Regions from separate parts of the Homo sapiens genome. Here region 1 is linked to region 2. The links are contacts of gene promoters, found by promoter capture Hi-C in human tissues and cell types (Jung and others, 2019). All regions are on one chromosome and are shown on one strand. Each heading gives the region's core, a stretch centred on a gene start or on the middle of the fragment in contact. The rest is flanking DNA. Distances are from core to core; before and after follow the strand shown.

The links. Contacts are between HindIII fragments. The study calls those that stand out against the background at their distance.
Region 1: a fragment that was not itself captured here is called in contact with the fragment with the promoter of SGCZ in region 2 in 4 of the 25 tissues and cell types used here (H1 embryonic stem cells, dorsolateral prefrontal cortex, hippocampus and 1 more).

The regions. Positions count from the first base shown.
Region 1 is chr8:15,325,129-15,330,760 of GRCh38, reverse strand. No RefSeq gene overlaps it. Among named protein-coding and RNA genes, the nearest start is that of SGCZ, 90 kb to the right of the region's middle. The HindIII fragment of the contact is 3,077 bases long and covers 1-2,967 here.
Region 2 is chr8:15,236,009-15,241,955 of GRCh38, reverse strand. SGCZ (sarcoglycan zeta) reads left to right here and starts at 3,525. Exons shown (of 8, transcript NM_139167.4): 1 at 3,525-4,371. The coding sequence starts at 4,333. The HindIII fragment of the contact is 17,338 bases long and covers 1-5,632 here.

The sequences.
Region 1 (5,632 bases), core at 180-2,679, 91 kb before region 2:
ATGAGTGAGTTGACTGATAACTACAATATAGAGAATTTTACCCATGGACAGAATAAGCCCACACAGTCATGGTGAAAAGCCTAATCAAATTCAACTAATCATGGTGAATTCACATGGGAATATGGGTCAGACGGGAAATTCAAATAAGTGTGAAGTTATAAAATTTAGAAGAAAAAAGATGTTAAACAAATATAATTCTAGGCATACCTTACAATGCACAAATATAACACAAAAACCTGGCAATTGTAAAATAGAGGGCAAAATACTACAGTGAATAAATCACAGTTAAGAAAACTAGCATGAGAGTTGGATACAATAAAATAGTAATGTTGAATTTAAATGTAATGTGGTGACCTTTCTTATTATGTCTTGAATTTTACAATGAATATAGACCATGAAAAGCTTGCTGTGGTTTGGATTTCATCCACATACAGTTTAGATTAACTTCTTATCTTCCCACTCTAATTTTGTCAGCGGCTACATTTTATAGCTTTGCGGTTGAGCTCCAAAAAGGTGATTAAAATTCAACTAATAAAAAAAAGAAGAAGGAAATTGGGGTGATTTGGTCTGGAGAAGAGAAGGCTGGGGAATGATGTCATTCCTCTTAAGCAGATAATGGTAACTAGGCTATTTCTATTTCCTCACATTATAGAATAATAAGTGGAAGTCTATAAATTTTCTCTATAATTTTTTTTTTAAAAACTGAGTTACATGCCTAATGCATTTTCAGATGTTGGGCGGTGTGAAGTTTATTAAAAGTCAAGGACTTATTAAATAGTCTCTCAATATATCTTCTATTTTTGTAATACAGTTAGTTATCTTTTCACACACCTTCTTTCATATAGTATTGTATCTGTTTCATTTTTCAAGATGTGTTATTTTTGGTGAAGTTAGTTTCTTACGTTACCTTAAAATTAAAGTGACCAACATTGAGTTTAAATTCTATTATTTTGCAAATATTAATATATTCCTTTCAGACTTCAGAATTATTCCTCTTGTTAAATTTTATGAACAGCTAAAGGTTATTTCAAGTTATATCAAGTCAGTAGGTTCAGAGAACAAGTTCTGGAAATTAAATGTTATGAAGCTTGCCACTTATGATAACGCAGGTTTGTTGTTCTCTTTATGTATGATTTAAAGAAAAATGACCTGAATAAAAAACAGCTATCTATGTCTATACCTGTGTCTATATTTATATGGCTTCAAACATTTTATATGAATATGTATTTTTATATATGTGTGTGAATATGTACATATTCATATACTTAAAGGTAAGAAGGAAGCAGAATAATACAAAATGGATCTTTCCAATCATTTGTTCATGAAAAGTGTAAGTATTTGCAATCTCTTCATACTCCTTTAAAGTCAAAAATCAATGACAAGGAGGTAGTAGAGTTCGGAACAGATACAAATCCATTTTGAGTAATAGATATACAAAAGATGATTGAGTATTGCCTACTGAGTTAATGAGACCATTGAAGATAAGGGAGAGATATGTGGAAACACAGTCCATTTCTTTAACATCTGCTTGTTTTCTTATTTCAAGGAAAATAAATATCTTGTATGTATAAGGAAGATGATAGCATTTAGATAATGTCAATGATAATCTTTTGTGATGCTGGAATGGCAGGTAGATATCTTTAATAAAGATCTATGTGGACTGTGTAGAGGCTTAAGGTTGAAAATAACATAAATGACAGAGGAAAGCTCTTTCTAGGAGATTGCAGCTGAGGGAATCATTTTGTGTAAGTTACTGTCTTAAACTTAAGTGAGCTTAGATAAAGAAGGAAAAAAAGTTTATACTGCTATATACAAGTTCAATATACATTACAATGTTCAAGTTGAAGTTTACGAACATCTGATATTAGATTTAAAATAATCTTTTCAGTAAGTTCACTTAAATAAAATAGTTTTATAAGACAGAACATTAGCAATCTTAAGTTTTAAGCTTTGTTAATTTAATCTGTTAAATTCACAATTAAAAAACATTCAAAGAGCAGATATTTGTTTTTCTTAATATTAGCCAGAAGTCAGATTCTTTACAAAGTCAACACTAATACTAAAAGTAGGTATTTGACAAGTAAAAATCCAATGTAAATAGGAAATATTCACTTTTTAAAGTAAATTAATTATTCCCATATAAGTGAGCTTCCAGCTATAATTATTCAGATTTTACAACACTTAATTCTCATCTGTTAATGCTTTGATTTATTCTTATTTCCTCCCATAATTTATATTCTCATACTGAATGATTCTATTTACTAAAGTTCAAAGACAAGCAGAACTAATCAATGGTGTTAGAAGTCAAGATAGTGATTATCTTTGGAGAGGAAGGGCAGCTACGTTTGGGAAGAGGCTGTAGATACAGCTTCTTAGACTTTGCAACTTTCTTGTATAATTCTTGTTTAATTGGACCATATACAATTCTTGAGATAGGTGGAGGTTGCAATAATAGATTCATTTTGTATAATTAACTGAGCAATATAATCAAGACTCAACAAATATTATTTGAGAACCTACCACATACCACACATTAAAATAGGCTTTTGTTATAAAATACCACACACAATAGACACTGTCCCTGTCATCAAGGAGTATACAATCTAGTGGTGAACACAGGCAACTAAACAAGTAATTACAATGCAGTGGGATCCATGTGAATGATAAATAATACATGGTATGGATTTTAGCAAAAAAACTTCCTGTATAATGTGTCATTTAAGTTAAAACTTGAAAGACTGGCAGAGTTTTTTTTCTGGAAAAGAAGGTTGAAAACATGTTCCTGTAGAGGAAATAATGTATGCAAGAGCCAAGAAATGAGAGACTGAATTGGTCTTTTATCTAACTGGAATTGGTACAGACTTGCTCAAAATTCAAGTACTCAAGGCAGAAATATTCATTTTTTTTCTATTCTTTGCAACTATGTTTGCAATTTCTTCTTAATATAGTTTGTATATTGGAAATACACAAGCATTTCCTCTTCAGCTGCTGTATTGGATAAGTTGCAGGCTAAGCTAGTTGCTCCAAAAGGATTCCAAAACACAGCGACTCAAAGAGCTAAAATGTCTCTATCTGATATGCAATAGTCTGGAGTTTGCTGGTGGTTTAGGGAAAGAAAGTAGCTTTCAACCCAGAAAAGTTATTTCAAGATCATTTATTTCAGCTTCTCGTTCCCAGGGAATTGTCCTCATTTGACTGTTTAACACTGACAGCTCCTTGTCTGTCTTCTACTCCATGGGAAGAGGGAGAGAGATTAAGATTACAGCATTTTTTGGAGGGGAAATGATGCAAAAGTTTTATGCGTAATTTCTACTCATCTTCTATTGGTAATAACATGGTTATATGGCTGCACTTAGCTGTAGGGAAGGTTGGAATGTACAGTGTCTAGCAGAGTGGACTTGTGGCCAGCCACCCTCTATTATTCTAGAAGAGGGGCAGAAGGACTCAGGGAAAAACTAGCAGCCTATCAAAACTGCCCACTTCTAAAGCCCCTTTGTGGCAGTGTGAAAATGTCATAAAATAAATGCAGATCAGTAGGTGGCAGATCACGAGAGGCCTTTTATATCAAAATTAAGTATTCATATTTTATTTTGAAGACAGTTTGGAACTGTGTAGGAGTTGTAATCAAAGGAGTGTCACGGTCACATTTTCATTTTAGGAAAGTACTCTCTGGATGTAGGTTTGGGAAAATACCAGAGGGACGGAGGCTGCTTTTGATGGATTGGCTAAAATCTGCTTGAGATATTATGGTGAAGAGAACTAAAGGAATGAGTAGAGCATAGAGGAGATCAGATGCAGAGAAATACATGAGCTTAAGTGGTTAAACGCACAGTCATCACTTAGATGTGAGGAAGGAAAGTTTACGAGTAGACAATGATGACACCAAGGATCAAGGCTGGGTGGAGTTGTGGCCTTCTCTGAGTACAGGGAAGGAGTATTCAGTCAGACAAGTAAGTACAGATGAATTTAATGTTGGACCTATAAAGCTTTAATCACTGTTCTAATTAAGTAAAACTGTGCAGGACCAAATTGAGCTTAAAAGCACCTGTTCAAAGCTGTTCTTGACAAATTAATGGGCCTAGAATGGGACGCTGAGGAAAGCCAACATTTAAAGGTAGTCAGAGAAAATGGGAGCAGTGATCACTGACAGATTTTTAACTAAATAATAATCTATCAAGTTCATCTAAATACAATTAACCAAATATAACTTCATGGAAGAGGAAGGCAACATATATACGGATGACTTCTATACTGATGATTTCTCAATCTGTTCACTAAAAATACTGCGCATTGTCTACCTGTAGTTTACAATAATTTCATTTTGTTGAAGATACCTGAAAAATCAGCTTTTCAGTGAGTTGCTGAAAAAGGATATTGCTACTCCATAATTCAAGATTAGGTAAATTGGGAGAGGAGAAAACTAGAAATTTGTAGTTTATTTGTTTAAATGGTGAGAAGTCTCATAAAATATGGTGTAATCAACAGCGGTAAATGCTCAGAGTTCAAGAAAGCTGAAAGCTGAAAAAACGACCAGAAGATTTGGTAAGAAGGCCACCACTGATCCATGAGATCAGTTTGATTGGGATGGTAGGGGCAGAGGTTGGATTAAAGGGTATTAAAGATAGATCAGAGGTGAAAAAATGTAGATTCACAGTGTAACCTCTCTTTTCCAAAGTATGGTTGTAGAAAGAATAATAAGGCTAGCAACTATAAGGAATCGGGATTTCCGGAAAAGCATTTATTTATTTATTTTTAAAAGGAGAAACTTGAGAATGTCTGAATGGAATAAAGAAGGATTCCTTTGGGAAGAAGGTGAAATATACAGCCCAGAGTGGTCCTTGAGAAGGTGGAGATAGGAGACTCCCACAGAAGAGATGCGCTGTACTGAAGGAAGATCCATTTTTCTTTTTAACAGCAGAGAAATAAAAAAGAATGATTTCAGGGTTTTAAAAATTATTATTTCAGATTATTGTTATTGCTTTTGCATTATTTCCAGGAAGAGAGATAGAAAATGTCAGCTTTGTGCTCATGTTTTGATATCAGAATGCTATTGTTTTTGTTTGTCTGTCAATGGAAGAGTTTTTATTGACTACAACTCAAGCAAAAGCATAAAGAAGAGGCAATCATTTAAAAACACCAAAGTCTACTAAGAATCCTGTTGGGCTGTGCCTGGGAGGAAGGGCAGGCTTCATTTGCTTCGTTCCTTGGAGTCTCAGAATTTCTGCTGAATGTAGTCATAGAAGTCTTTCTCACTATCTGTTGAAAGAGGTTCTCCAGTAAGAGGCAGCTCATGTGTTTATTGATTCTGAAGCCCTTGTCTAGGGCAGGAGCTCTCATATTCCTACTGAAAATAGCACTGCCAGTGAAACAGAGAACATCAGAGTAATGCTGATTATTGGCTGTCAACTTCGTACCAATGTTTCTATGTGAGTATTCCTTTCATCATTTTTACTTGGAAGCTGGCAAAACACGCTTCTTCGGCATTAACAAGTTACTATACAACTCAACCTCCACCTTCAAATGACTAGAAAATGTATTGTTTTTTGTAAGGGGAATTTGATACCAATAAATTCCGTTCAATTATTCATTCTACTAATGAAGCATGCTACTCCTCTATTATGAATCTTCAGAC
Region 2 (5,947 bases), core at 2,276-4,775:
GAAATAAAATATGGTCATGTGATATAGTGCAGTATGGAAATCCACATAAATGCATAAAATTGTAAACTTGGCAAGAGAGTTAGACAAGGGGAGTAAAAAGGCCTACAAAATTTGAAACTCTTCAAGTGCTTTTAAGCCATAGATTATTAAGAATTATATTGTCTACTGGAAAAAAGGATATGTATGTACAAGTTCCCCACTTCTGTAAATCAGTTAAAGAAAAAAAAAACTCATAGAGACAGGGGTACATTTGCTTTAATACTTTATGATGATAGGCGACATTGATGAACGTATCTATGGACCAATGATCCTGAAATGTAACATCTCATGACCTGCAGGTGTTTCCACACTTCCTTCCCCTTGCTCAGGAGGTGTAATTACTCTTGCAGTTTGCCTGTGAATTGTACATGTTTGCTAACTGAATCTTGCCGCTTTCACATACTCTGCTATATGCCAGCACGATTTCCTCCACAGCCATGGGTAGCTGTCTTTGTCCTGAAGTTGTGACTCAGGACATCTAGAAAATACTCCTTTCCTCAATTCACTTCCTCGTCCTTCCATTGCCTTCATTTCAAATGTCTTTAAAGTGATTCAATTTTCTGAAAGTTGTGCCATCTAGTCGTATGTCAGATGAAGTGGAACTGAGTCCTGATTGTCTTAAAAGGTCATATAAATGTTTTGGCAATTCTTACTTTTGTGATCAACTGTAATTGTTTTTGGTTTTAGAAATATTCAGCCTAATGAGTTTGCATGGGAGTTCATGAAATAGTGATAGACTTGGAAATCACTCGCTTTATAGACATGTAATTGCACCCAAATATGGAATTGATTTGGAAATCACTAATTGTTTCTATCGCTTATGTCAGAGGTCTCCTAAGCCCCTGACCATCTGTGACCTGTTACGAACTAGGCCACACAGCAGGAGGGGAGTGGTGGGTGGGTTAGCACTCAGTACCACCTGAGCTCTGCCTGCTGTCAGATTAGTGGGGGCATTAGATTCTCATGGGAGCACCCCCCTATTATGAACTGTGCACGCCAGAGATCTAGGCTGTGCACTCCTTATGACAATTTAACTAATGCCTGATGATCAGAGGTGGAACAGTCTCATTCCAAAACCTTCCCCTGTATCCTGTGCCATGCATCTGTGGAAAAACTGTCTTCCATGAAACTGGTCCCTGATGCCAAAAATGTTGGTGTATTAGTTCGTTTTTACACTGATGATAAAGACATAACCGATAATGGGTAATTTATAAAGAAAAAGAGGTTTAATGGACTCACGGTTCTGCGTGGCTGGGGAGACCTCACAATCATGGCGGGAGGCGAAACGCACTTCTCACCTGGAGGCGGTGAGAGAGAGTGGGAACCAAGCAAAAGGGGTTTCCCCTTATAAAACCGCCAGATCTCGCGAGACTGATTCACTACCATGAGAAGGGCATGGGGGAAACCACCCCCACGATTCAGTTATCTCCCACTAGTTCCCTCCCACAACATGTGGGAATTATGGGAGGGAAAATTCAAGATGAGATTTCTATGGGGACCCAGAAGCCATATCATTTGGGGACCACTGGCTTATAATGCCAGTCTGGTCAACATCAAATGTTGGATATAATTTCATATTTTAAAATTCACTACAGATAAATTAGAGTCTATATATATATATATATATACACACACATAAAATTAAGAACAATATCATTTTTTCTTTCAACTATAATATGTCATATTAAGAAACTGCAGTTTTCCCTTTGTGAATAATATTTAAACATCAACATTTTTCTATGGATACCTTCCTTGAACTACATTTTCACAACTGCAAATTGAAAACTTACCTTAAATAATATCAGTTTGCTAATATGTTCAAAATAAATTTGCTTGTTTTATTCAATTTTCTAAAGTTAGGCAATGACTAGTTGACAGGGAATTTCAAATTCTTTCATATGGAAAGACTTGACTTTCAAAAGCCTATGTATTAGGTTGGTGCAAAAGTTATTGTGTTTTCTGCCATTACTTTCAGTGGCAAAAACTGCCATTACTTTTGCATCATCCTAGTAGTTATCTTTGTTCATGTTGAATTGTTGATACTTTCTAGAAGAGAAGCTCTTTTTTAGAGTTAAAAGTCTTATATAAGTTCATCTACTCTCAGCCTGAACCTTTATTATTTTTCATCATATATTATGCAAAATAATTATGTCTTATAAGCACATGAAGTTTATTTTGAGAATCTGATGTTTGGCCCTACTCATTATGGACTTTTGGCTACTTGATGTTAATCTTAAAAGCTGTAGTCAGAAGTCAAAGTTTGAAAGAAAGATAGCTTAGGCAAGTGCATGGAATAGACTAGGCTTAAACTAATGAAATGGACATCCTCCATGAGAAAGCTGAGCCCTCCAGGCTTAGCTGCAAAGTAGAAGGAGAAAAACTGGGATGTGCTCCATTGGTGCCGGTGAGGGGAGGAGGGGAGTCATCAGGGTTTCAGACATTAGAATATTAACTGTAAAGGTTTCTTTCCACACATTTATCTGTTCCATGCACATTTGTGTGCTTATTAGCTGCTTGGCTCTTGGGACATTTGGTGAATAAGAACCGTCCAGAACATGCCTTCAAGAGTTTATAGTCTATTGGAGGAGTCAAACAAACAAACGGATAATAACAGCATACATTAAATAATGGTAAATTAAGAATGCTGCTACGACAAGAGGATAAAGGAGAATATCTGACAGACTCACCTGAGAAAAATTTTTCTCTGCTCAGGTGACTTTAGTCAGAAGCAGAAGTGTTAAAACTATAAAGAACTAGGGGGAGAGACAGCTGTCCTTAACGAGGGGGCAAGAATGGGAATTAAAGAGCCAGTACTGGCAGGTGGACCAATAGACTAGGTGGCTGGAATTCAGGGAGGCAGAGGACGGAGATGATGTTAGAGAGAGACCATGAGACTGGAATGTGCATATTAAATCCTAAAAAAAGAAACACTTTTTTTTTGAAACAAAAGTATTTATACAGCTCTGTTTCCAAATCTGTAAACATCTTTAAGTCTCAATAGTTTATGTGTCATAATAAAACAAGAGTCTTTAAAACGCTTCAAAAGTCAAGTTTTACACTGAGACATTTAAATGAAGAAAACGAGCCCTTTCCCCAAATCTACAACCTACAAGTTAAATGCACTGACCTGTCAGAATCTATGTAAAGAACAATTTTCTAATAAAAGACTGCTTTATCATAAGAAGCATCGTTCCAGGAAATTTCCTTTAATATTCTTATCTGTCACTTTCTATAAAAGTCTTTTTTAAATTAAAAAATCTGATGCTGAAAGCAGCAGAGATCTGAAGTGAGTATATTTAAATACATGTGGGTGATACACACAAGCATGTTCCTCCCAGATCTGCAGGAAGATGAAGCAATGTACGCAATGAATTAAAATGATTGTCACCTAGTGGATTCCGGACACAGGGCAGGCTTTAAGACCCAGCGATAGTATTTGTCTGGAGAGGAAATGTTGCTTTTTGACAGATGAGAGAAATCCCCTTAGTGTTGGCTGTGGGAAGAGAGAAGCGAAGTCAGTCACCTGGTGGTGAAGGCCAGTAAAACAGCGAAGCAGGAGGAAAATTTTTCTCTCCCTCTCTCTTTCTCTCCCTCTTTTTCTCTCCGTTGGATCCACCTCCTATTCCCTCAACTCTTTTAGCATAACCTTCAAAGGAGAACGTTCCCTTCTGACTTGATTATCTTCTTTTCCCCACTGAGAAAATACCTCTCAGCTACAAGACATTTTTTAAGTCTATGCAGGACTTCGGGGATTCTGTTATCTTGCCGGGGAAACTGATCATTGCTAATGCCTGGGACTGGAGCTAAATTACCTACCAGAGTAAGCCTGACGGAGGAAGCCTTTTATCATACACTCTTCTCTTCAGTTTGAACACATTTGCTTGAAATTTGCCGCATGATGCTGACCAGGGAAGCAGCTTTTTTTCTCGGGATGCAGCAATTCGCTGGGTTCTAAGCTTATTGCAGAAGAAGAAATAATCTTAAATAGAGTGGATTTTTTTTTCCTTTTTTCTTTTGGCCCCTGTTTCAATCGACTCAGCTGTGTTGCACCGCGGTAGAGATCACCTGTCACTAAATCTTTGAGGAAGTAAAATAAAGTGAATTATCATTATTATTTATTTATTTTCCTTATTTTTAACCCGGTGGAGGCGGCGTGACCACGGAGAATGAGACTGAGAGGAGCTGCCGGGGCTTGGAGGAGGATAAAGCTGAGTTTAAGCTGGAAACTAAAAGACTAGATTGTTTTTGGGTGCCACTCGCCCGGTTCCTCTCCACTTCGTTTAGTTGCGCTCCATGGACAGATCAACGAACCTGGACATTGAGGAGCTCAAGGTACGTGCGGGTCCGGGCGGGCTTCGCGGCCGCTTCTCGGCGCTCCCTGCTCTCCCCTCTCCTTCCCGCGGCTCCTCCAGCGGCGCGGAGTAGTTGGTGGTCCCGCGGGACGACGAGGGGGCGTTGGGGGGACGCGCACCCGGGCGCAGGCGCCCCTGCTGGGGCCGAGGACACGGAGGGTGGTTCTCCCGAGCCAGGCTGCACTCCCGGGCTGGGCGCCCTCCCCGCCTGCTCCTCCCGCCAGCGGCCACCCCGTCCTCCTCCTGGTCCGTGACGGCAGCATTTGGGGTGCAGACCCTGCGCCTCTTGCCGGCTCGTCTCCCCGGGGGGGGCAGCGGCACCAGCTCTGCCCGCTGTCGCCTGCTTTCCCAGCAAAGTTGTCCGAGCTGCGCCGCCACTTTGCCTCCTCTTCCCGGCTCCGATCCCGCCTGTGCCCCAGCCCGGCACGGGGACAGTGCATTTCCGCTCGGAGATTCGCGTGACAGAGGCATCTGCAACGACAGCCCGTTTTTATCCCAGAACTTCGTGAGACCCCTTTTCCCTCCCACCGCCCGCGGGCAGTGTTTCCTCCCGCAGTTGCAGTGCAGGGGCTGGAGAGGTACCCCCGCTGCCGGGGACGGCTAGCCTGCCCTAGCCCCAGGCGCGGGAGCAGGTCCGGGGACTCGGGCAGGGGGCGGGGAGGCGGGAGCCGGGCTGGTAGGGGCGGCATCTGCGGAGGCTCCGGCCGCACACGGTCTCCCACCAGCCTGGAGCCCCCCGCCGCTCCGCGGGTTCCCCGCGCCGCGCCCTCTCCCTCTGGGGTCCCCTGCTTGGCCGTGAGGGCCTGCCCGGAGGGAGCATCCGGGGTGACAACGCGCCCCTCTGCCTATGGGCACCTCTGCCTGCTTCCCTTCAAGAAAAAAAAATATATATATTTATATACACACAATAAATAAAAACTTTAAAAAACCAACAAACCACAAAATACTTTAAATGTCCCGCTCACCGTAAACGAAAAAGCGGGAAAGGGGGCGACACTGGAAGCACCTCTTTTATTGAAATCCTCCACCCTTCTTTACCCCTAGGCATTTGGTACGTTCTACTATTTCAGAGGTTCAGATGGATTCTGGCTTCTTTGATCAGTGAGAATGTTTAGGCACCCCCCCACCCGCTGGAGAAACGACGAATAGAGGTTTGCCCTGAAATGTCAAGGAAATGGGTTTATCCGACAAGCTAGGCAGGCTGCAAAATCCCCTGCAGAGCTCCAAAGCCTCTGTCTGCAGCCTGTCCTGTGCCCTGGCCAGGGGGCACGCAGGAGCCCAGTTCTCCAGGCGCCCCAGATTGCATAGACGGGGAAGGAAGGAGGGACAGAGAACAGTGGCGCCTGCCAGAATCGCCCTGCCACTGACTGTAGATGCAGTCCAGGACGGAGGGAGGACAGTGAGAAGACCTAGAACACCACTTCCACCGAAGACTGAGTTCCCTGGGCAAAGGGAAGTAGGGAGGAGGCAGATTTGATGCTTCGTTTAAAGTTGGCCAACAAGTTTCTGTGTTTTTGCCAAGATCATAGTCAGTAGACCTTGGCCTGGGCTAGAAG